Regions from separate parts of the Homo sapiens genome. Here region 1 is linked to region 2. Evidence: promoter capture Hi-C in human tissues and cell types (Jung and others, 2019). All regions are on one chromosome and are shown on one strand. The core of a region is centred on a gene start or on the middle of the fragment in contact, and the rest is flanking DNA. Distances in the headings are between cores, read along the strand shown.

The links. Contacts are between HindIII fragments. The study calls those that stand out against the background at their distance.
Region 1: a contact is called between a fragment that was not itself captured here and the fragment with the promoter of ZNF619 in region 2, in 1 of the 25 tissues and cell types used here (lymphoblastoid cells).

The regions. Positions count from the first base shown.
Region 1 is chr3:42,027,579-42,031,755 of GRCh38, forward strand. It overlaps a transcript of TRAK1 not described here. Among named protein-coding and RNA genes, the nearest start is that of TRAK1, 62 kb to the right of the region's middle. The HindIII fragment of the contact is 5,858 bases long and covers 1-4,177 here.
Region 2 is chr3:40,475,711-40,479,669 of GRCh38, forward strand. ZNF619 (zinc finger protein 619) reads left to right here and starts at 1,412. Exons shown (of 5, transcript NM_001145093.4): 1 at 1,412-1,647; 2 at 2,208-2,293. The coding sequence starts at 2,270. RefSeq lists an enhancer at 1,586-1,725. The HindIII fragment of the contact is 8,968 bases long and covers 1-3,959 here.

The DNA.
Region 1 (4,177 bases), core at 1,239-3,738, 1.6 Mb after region 2:
AATATATCTATTTTCAAAAAGTACTTTTGTATTTTAAACATTATTTAGTTGTAGAAAATATTTTTTAAAAAGCCCCAAACCTAAACTATACAGTGAGGCCAGTATGAGAATAGAGGTACTGAAATGGGTAACTAATTATTTATTAATATGTTTATTTCCCTGCGAATTCAGAGACTGGGAAAGAAAACCAGGAACAACCATTTTTCACTTCTCTAATTTTATCTGAAGGAGGGGAATCATAAAGTAGGAAGCCTTTTATCTCAATGGCAGACTCTGTTATTTTTTTTTGAGATGGAGTTTCGCTCTCGTTGCCCAGGTTGGAGTGCAGTGGTGCGATCTTGGCTCACTGCAACCTCCGCCTCCTGAGTTCAAGCCATTCTTGTGCCTTAGCCTCCTGAGTAGCTGGGATTATAGGCGCCAGCTATCATGCCCAGCTGATTTTTTGTATTTTTAGTAGAGACGGGGTTTCATCATGTTGGCCAGGCTGGTCTCAAACTCCCGACCTCAGGTGATCCACCTGCCTTGGCCTCCCAAAGTGCTGGGATTACAGGCATGAGCCACCACCCCCGGCCACAGCCTCTGTTCTTACAAACTAGTGGATACAGGTGCCGGAACACCAGGCCGTGGGCCACGTGTTTACATGCTGCTCCCCAGTAGAGTTGCTGAGTGGTTTATGTTTATTCCGGAAATACATGGTTCACTCTGATTTTACAGGTCTTCCGCAGGTAAGAATCACCTTTGATTAGAGTCAGGGGATTCCTGGCAGAATGGGGAGCTGGAGACCCACTTAGATCAGTGATTGCTAAGTGTGAGCTGTGTGGCTTCCCTGGGCCAGGCACTGAGTTATGACAGTAAATGAGACAGTCCAGGTCTGGGGGCAGACCAAAGAGACCCAATGTAGTAATAGATGTAGGATATGATACCAGGTAGTGACTAGGGGAGAGAATGAGGTGGCAGCAGAGGTGTCTTTAGGGAGGTTATAGGTGAGCAGAGATTGAATGGGGATTGAGCCATGGGAACATATGGAGGAAAAGCTTCCCAGGCAGAGCAAACAGCAAGTGCAGAGGCCTTGGTGAGAAGGCCAGTGTGGCTGCAGTGCAGGGGACCCTGGGGATAGTGGACGTGGATGAAGCCAGGAGATAGTCAGGGGACGGCTGCATCCCACTGGCCTGCTGGCTGTTGTAAGGAGTGGGTATTTTAATCTGCATATGATTGGGAACTACTGGAGGATTCTGAGTATGGAGGAAGCTGCAGGGGAGTGACAAGAATTGATTGATTTTTAGATGATTTATTTATGAGACGGTATGTTAGTCTATTCTCACATGGCTATAAATAAATACCTAGGATTGGGTAATTTACAAAGAAAAGGTTTGATTGGCTCATGGTTCTACAGCCTGCACAGGAAGCATGGTGCTGGCATCTACTTGGCTTCTAGGGAGGCCTCAGGAAACTTACAATCATGGTGGAAGGCAAAGGGGGAGCCAGCACTTCACTTGGCTGGAGCAGGAGGAAGAGAAAAGATAGAGGTGCTACACACTTTTAAACAGTACCAAGGGGGATGGTGTTAAACCATAAGAAACCACCCCCATGATCCAATCACCTCCCACCAGGCCCCACCTCCAGCATTGGGGATTACAATTCAACATGAGATTTGGGCGGGGACAGAGATCCAAACCATATCACAGTGTCTTGCTCTGTCACCCAGGCTGGCATGCAGCGGTGCAGTCTCAGCTCATGGGAGCATCAACCTTCTGGGCTTGAGTGATCCTCCCACCTCAGCCCCTCCAGTAGCTGGGACTGCAGGTGCGCGCCACCATGCCTGGCTAATTTTGCTTGTTTTTTTGGTAGAGATGGGGTCTCACTATGTTGCCCAGGGTAGTCTTGAACTCCTGAGCTCAAGGCATCCTCCCTCCTTGTCTTCCCTAAGTGCTGGGATTACAGGTATGAGTCAGTGTGCCCAGCCTGATAGAATTTTTTTTTTTTTTTTTTGAGACAGAGTCTCACTCTGTTGGCCAGGCTGGAGTGCTGTGGTGTGATCTTAGCTCACTGCAACCTCTGCCTCCCCGGTTCAAGTGATTCTCATGTTTCAGCCTCCCAAGTAGCTTGGATTACAGGTGCGTGCCACCATGCCTGGCTAATTTTTGTATTTTTAGTAGAGACGAGGTTTTGCCATGTTGGCAGGCTGGTCTCAAACTCCTGGCCTCAAGTGATCCACCCACCTCAGCCTCCCAAAGTGCTGTGATTACAGGTGTACGCCACTGCGACTGGCCCTGATTGATTTTTTAAATGAAACCCCAGCTTCTGTGTGGAGAGCCAGAATAGGGGAGGCACGATTGGAAGTACGGATGGTAGAGAGGGTTTTGCACTGGGATAGGTGGGAGAAGGAGAGTGGTAGAAGGTGGCATTTCAAGGCAGTGGAAGGATGTGACGTGCCCTGTGGGGTAGAGGGACAGGAGCAGCCAAGGGAGAGAAGAGGCGAGGGTGATGCCGAGATCTCACAGACATCTAAATGGAATTTTTAAGTCAGAAAACATTTACATAATTTTAAAATCCTGGGCTTAAAAATTGTTGTTGGCTGGGTGTGGTGGTTCACACCTATAATCCCAGCACTTTGGGAGGCTGAGACAGGAGGATAGCTTGAGGCCAGAAGTTCCAGACCAGCATGGGCAACATTGGGAGGCTGAGGTGGGAGGATCCCTTTTGAGCTCAGGAGCGCAAGGCAGCAGTAAGCTGTGATCTCGCCACTGTACTCCAGCCTGTGAGACAAAGCGAGACCCTGTCTCTAAAAAAAAAAATATATATATATATATATGGCCGGGCGTGGTAGCTCACGTCTGTAATCCCAGCACTTTGGGAGGCCGAGGTGGGTGGATCACTTGAGGTCAGGAGTTCAAGACCAGCCTGCCCAACGTGATGAAACCCCATCTCTACTAAAAATACAAAGATGGACCAGGCATGGTGGCGTATGCCTGTAATCCCAGCTATTTGGGAGACTGAGGCAGGAATATTGCTTGAATCTGGGAGATGGAAGTTGCATTGAGCCAAGATTGCACCACTGCACTGCAGCCTGGGTGACAGAGGGAGACTCCATCTCAAAAAAAAAAAAAAAGAATATATATATATATATATATATATATATATATATATATATATATATATATATGTAACTTGTTGGTCAGGCAGTTAGTAGGGACTGCTTGGGTTAAAGTTTTCCCGGTATTTGAGAACTAGGTGGAAGCATCTTCATCTCAAGCTAGAAGTAGTGGATGAAGAAGGAGAATGTTCTTTTATTTTGTAGCTGAGAGATTACTTTCATTGGCAGAAGTAAGAAGGTAAACCTCAAACTTCATCCCAAATCATTGAGCATGGTGTAACGATTGAACAGAGTACAAAGAGAAAACGGAACAATGTGCTCAGAGCACAGTGTCAGTGACACTTAACCTCAGCTATTTGAATTTTTTTTTTTTTTTTTTTTGAGATGGAGTCTCGCTCTGTCACCCGGGCTGGAGTGCAGTGGCGTGGTCTCGGCTCACTGCAGCCTCCACCTCCCAGATTCGAGCAATTCTCCTGCCTCAGCCTCCCAAGTAGCTGGGATTACAGGCATGTGCCACCATGCCTGGCTAATTTTTTTTGTATTTTTAGTAGAGATGGGGTTTCACGATATTGGCCAGGCTGGTCTCGAACGCCTGACCTTGTGATCCACCCGCCTCGACCTCCCAAAGTGCTGGGATTACAGGCGTGAGCCACCGTGCCTGGCCTTGAATTTTCAAAATTGAAAGTTTTCCAAAGATTCCTGACTGGACATGGTGGCTTATGCCTGTAATCCCAGCACTTTGGGAGGCTGAGGCAGGAGGATAGCTTGATAGCAACATAGCGAGACCCCCATCTCCACAAAAAATAAAAAAGTTAGCCAGGCATGGTGGTGTGCGCCTGTAGTCCTAGCTACTATGGGGCTGAGGGAGGAGAATCACTTGAGCCCAGGAATTTGAGGTTACGGTGAGCCATGATTGTGCTACTGTACTCCAGCTCAGGGGACAGAGCGAGACCTTGTCTCAAAAAATAGTTTTCTGAACATTCTTCAGGTGATTTGATAGTACTTCCTCAGTATATGTGTTGTAAAATTTGCTTAGGCTGTGTCTGGATGCAGTGCCTCATTTGAAATTTACTGTTTTCAAAA
Region 2 (3,959 bases), core at 162-2,661:
CTCCAGGTAGCAGGCTTCAGAGAGAAACGATTGTAAATGTTTCTTACCAGACTTCAAAAGGTGCCAAACTCTTAGTTAATTCTCTACTGGATCAAGGAAAACACTTTGAAAGTGAAGGGGATTCTTTACAGGATGTAGATTTTCTTCACAAAAGACAGCTTTACAGGGTCATTTCAAAATATGTCAAAGAAATACATTTTAGGGTAAAATACTTCAGTTTATTTCAGGGCCTGTTATCTGTCACATGAGACTATACTAGAGTCAGGTTAGAATTTGATGTCTTATTGCTATAAAGAGTTTGTTTTGGGCTGGGCGTGGTGGCTCACGCCTGTAATCCCAGCACTTTGGGAGGCCGAGGCGGGCGATCACGAGGTCTAGTTCAAGACCAGCCTGGTCAACATGGTGAAATCCCGTCTCTACTAAGAATACAAAAATTAGCCGGGCGTGTTGGCACGTTCCTGTAATCCCAGCTACTCAGGAGGCTGAGGCAGGAGAATTGCTTGAACCCGGGAGGCGGAGGTTGCAGTGAGCCGAGATCGGGAAACTGTACTCCAGCCTGGGCTACAGAGTAAGACTCCATCTCGGAAAAAAAAAAAAAAAGTTTTAGTCAGTCTCAAGATCTCTGTTTTAATGTTAATGCTGGTCCGTAGTGCCTGAATTCCAAGGGCATAACGAGGCAAGTCCGATCCCCTGCTTCCCATCATGGCCTGAACTAGATTGCCAGGTTTTCTTTGGAATGTTTTGGCTGAGAGAAGTGGTCCATTCAGTTGGTTGGGGGACTTAGAATTTTATTTTTGGTTTACAAAACTGTTGCATGAATTGACTCAGTTAATTCACTGAATTTATAAATTACAAACTTTTACCATTCTCAACTGATAAATTGAGGCAACGATTTAAGTATAACTTGAGCAAGTCCATATAGAGTGGAGCCAGGAACGCAGACAATGAGACACCATACCCCATGGTCTTAGGTCACAGTCATTCAGTGGGAGACAGGGGCTATAAATTCATTAGAAGGTTAAGTTAGGAATTAAGTAATTAGGTAAGGAATTAGGAATTCAGTTAATTAAGTTACAAATTGTTAAATATGGAGGAATTTATCATGTAGTTGGGGTACTAAGACATAAGAGAAAATAATAAAGAAAAACAGGAGCGGCCGGGCGCGGTGGCTCACGCCTGTATTCCCAGCACTTTGGGAGGCCGAGGCGGGCGGACAGCTTGAGCTCAGGAGTTCGAGAACAGCCTGCGCAACATAGCGAGACCCCCGTTTCAAAAAACACACGAAAAAATTAAAATTAAAAAACAAACAAACCAGGCGCAGAGCGGTTGTGGAGAAGGGAAGCGAAGGGTTGGAGTTTCGTTTCGTGGGAACCATAGAGAAGGGCCAGCCTCCCGGCTTCCTAGAGAGGCTGTAGGGACCGACGGCCGGCCAGCTAATGCTTCCGTCTTGGCCACCTTGCGAGCGCTCGGGTTGAGTTTCCCGGGCTTCCCTGACTCGGCTACCTGTTCTGGAGGTCAGGCTTTGGGCCCTTGCAGAGGTCGCCGAGGGGCCCGCGCCGCCGCCAGAGCCTGGGCCCAGTCCCCAGTCTTCAGAGACGCCCTCGACCTTCCTGCTCCGAGGAGCTGGCCTGATGTCCTCGGGTCGCGGTATTCATGGGGAGGATGGGAGCCGTGACTATAGGGTCTCCTGCTTCCCAGGGTGGAGCGTTCAGATCCCGGTTAGGTCTTCGGTCAGCATCACCCGCTGGGACATTAAGCGTCTTACCCTTGTCACCCGGGGCTGGGTCACCACTTATATTTTGTCCTGCAGCCTGTGGTTTGTTTAGGGGTCCCCGTTATATCCTACTTTCTCTCCAGAGACTTGTTTTGGGTTTTTGCCATGAACACTAGAAGCATTCAATACAAACTGTTTAGTAATGCATTCATAGTGGGGCCAAGAATTTTTTTTAAAAAACAGCCACGAATCCACTGCAGTTCTTGACTCTTACTTTACAGATATTCTTTCTAGAGTTTCCAGTGTCACCAAGCAGATCTATAGGAGAATATGCAGAGGGAGCATTTGCAACATCCCATGAATCAGTGGAGAGGGTGAATGACAGCAGCTAGTGTGCCAAGAATATCTGCAATGCTAGTGGCAGGAGACAGAGGGGAAGAGGCGGCAAGTGTAGGAGACGAGACAGATCAGTCTCATTGTGGTTCTCTCTTAGCTCCGCAGGTTCTTACTTTTTCAAACCTAGAGGGCAGTGCATGAAGCCAGGGGTCATCAGCCATGCTCCAGACAGTGTGGTTCCAGGTGAGCAGAGCTTTCTTTCAGCTTTCCATACTCAGAACAGATATGGAAGGTCAGTACAGCCCCAGTAGCCTGACTTGGCCAGTCTCATGCTTAGTTTTACATCCTTCAATAAAGTATGTAAAAACAGTATGCGAGGGGAGTTGACGAACGAGAGTAGGTGAATTTGGGAGAGTCAGGTAGGTTGGAAAAGAAGGAATGAATTATCCTAGAAAGTGGGAATCTGCATTCATGAGAACTGAAAGTGTGGCCTGGAGATGAGCAGCTTTTGCATTACAGAGGGCTCTTGTTAGGCAAAATGTCAGGCCCCCTCCCCAGATCTCCTAAATCAGAATCTACATTTTTACAAGATCTGGAAAATTAAAGGGCAGATTAAAATTTGAGGAGTGCTAGTCTGCGTTCACAGTACACAAAGAAAAGCCATTTCTGAGGTTAAATAGACACTTCCAAGGGAGGAGTTTACCCTGCAGACCACTCAGTTAAGGTACAGTGAAGCCAGAACTGGAAACATGTGGAAAATGTAGATTGATGAGGGAGATGTATTTTTGGAGGAATGATGAGTTTGGAGCTGAAGCCAGTGCCTTTAGCTCAATGCGAAGACGTCAGTCTAACCTCTGTGAGAGTCTATATCCTTTCTTGGCTACAAATTCATGTAGCATTGGGAGGACTTTTCCCTCCAGTTTTCTTGGTGGTAGATGATGGTTTTACTGGATTTTTCTCCAGTGTCCTAGATCATGGAATGAGAAAGCTGAGTTTATCATGTAATGGATGTATCTTGTAATGAGAAAGCTCCATCCCAAGGACTTAAAAACAATGTGTGTGTCCTTTTGGTGGATATTGGACCATCCACTTCTGTTCGAGAACTTCAGCAAAAATTCATTCCTACAAGTCAGGAAGTGTGCTGTGGGGGTATGCTGTGCTCTCCTGGTGCTTTGCCTGAAGTACAGAAATCACTTAGGATTAGATTCCCCAAAGAGGACCCCAAATGACAGTGGATTAAACGAGGTAAAGGCTTCTCTCTCATACAAAAGTATCAAGAGTCAATACAGGGCTAGTGTGGCAGCTCCCCTATTATGCTCTCAGGCTCTGTCTTTCTGCTCTACCATCCTAGCAGTGTCTCACCTGCTCTAGGCCACTTTATTGTCCAAGGTGGCTGCTTGATCTCTAGCCATCATGTGTGCATTCCAGCTAGAAGAGGAGCTGCCCAAAAAAAGATGAACCTCTCTCTTTTAGGAACCTTCCCATAAGTCCCCAACAATATTTATACTTGCATTTCATTGGCCCCACTTGGTTGCCCGGGTTGAGTGCAACCTCAAGTAAAATTAGGATTCCAATACTAAGAAAGAAAGGGGGTACACACACACCTGTCAGTCTTTGCTACAATCTCTAAGAGGAACATTTGTCATTTAGAATCTTCTAGGAAGTTCCCCCAATCTCATCTGTGGTTGTAGTAAGTGCTGAGATTTAGATGATATCATGTGCCAGGTGATATCTTCGTGCGTTACAGATAATAACTTAATGCCATTCTTGTAAGAGTCCTTTCAGATAATTACTATTGTTATCCCAGTTTTACAAATGGGGGCAACTGAGGCACAGAAAGTTTAATTGTCTCATCCAAAGTTAACAGCTAATGAGTATTAGAGATACTATTTGAACTTAGGGAGTCTAG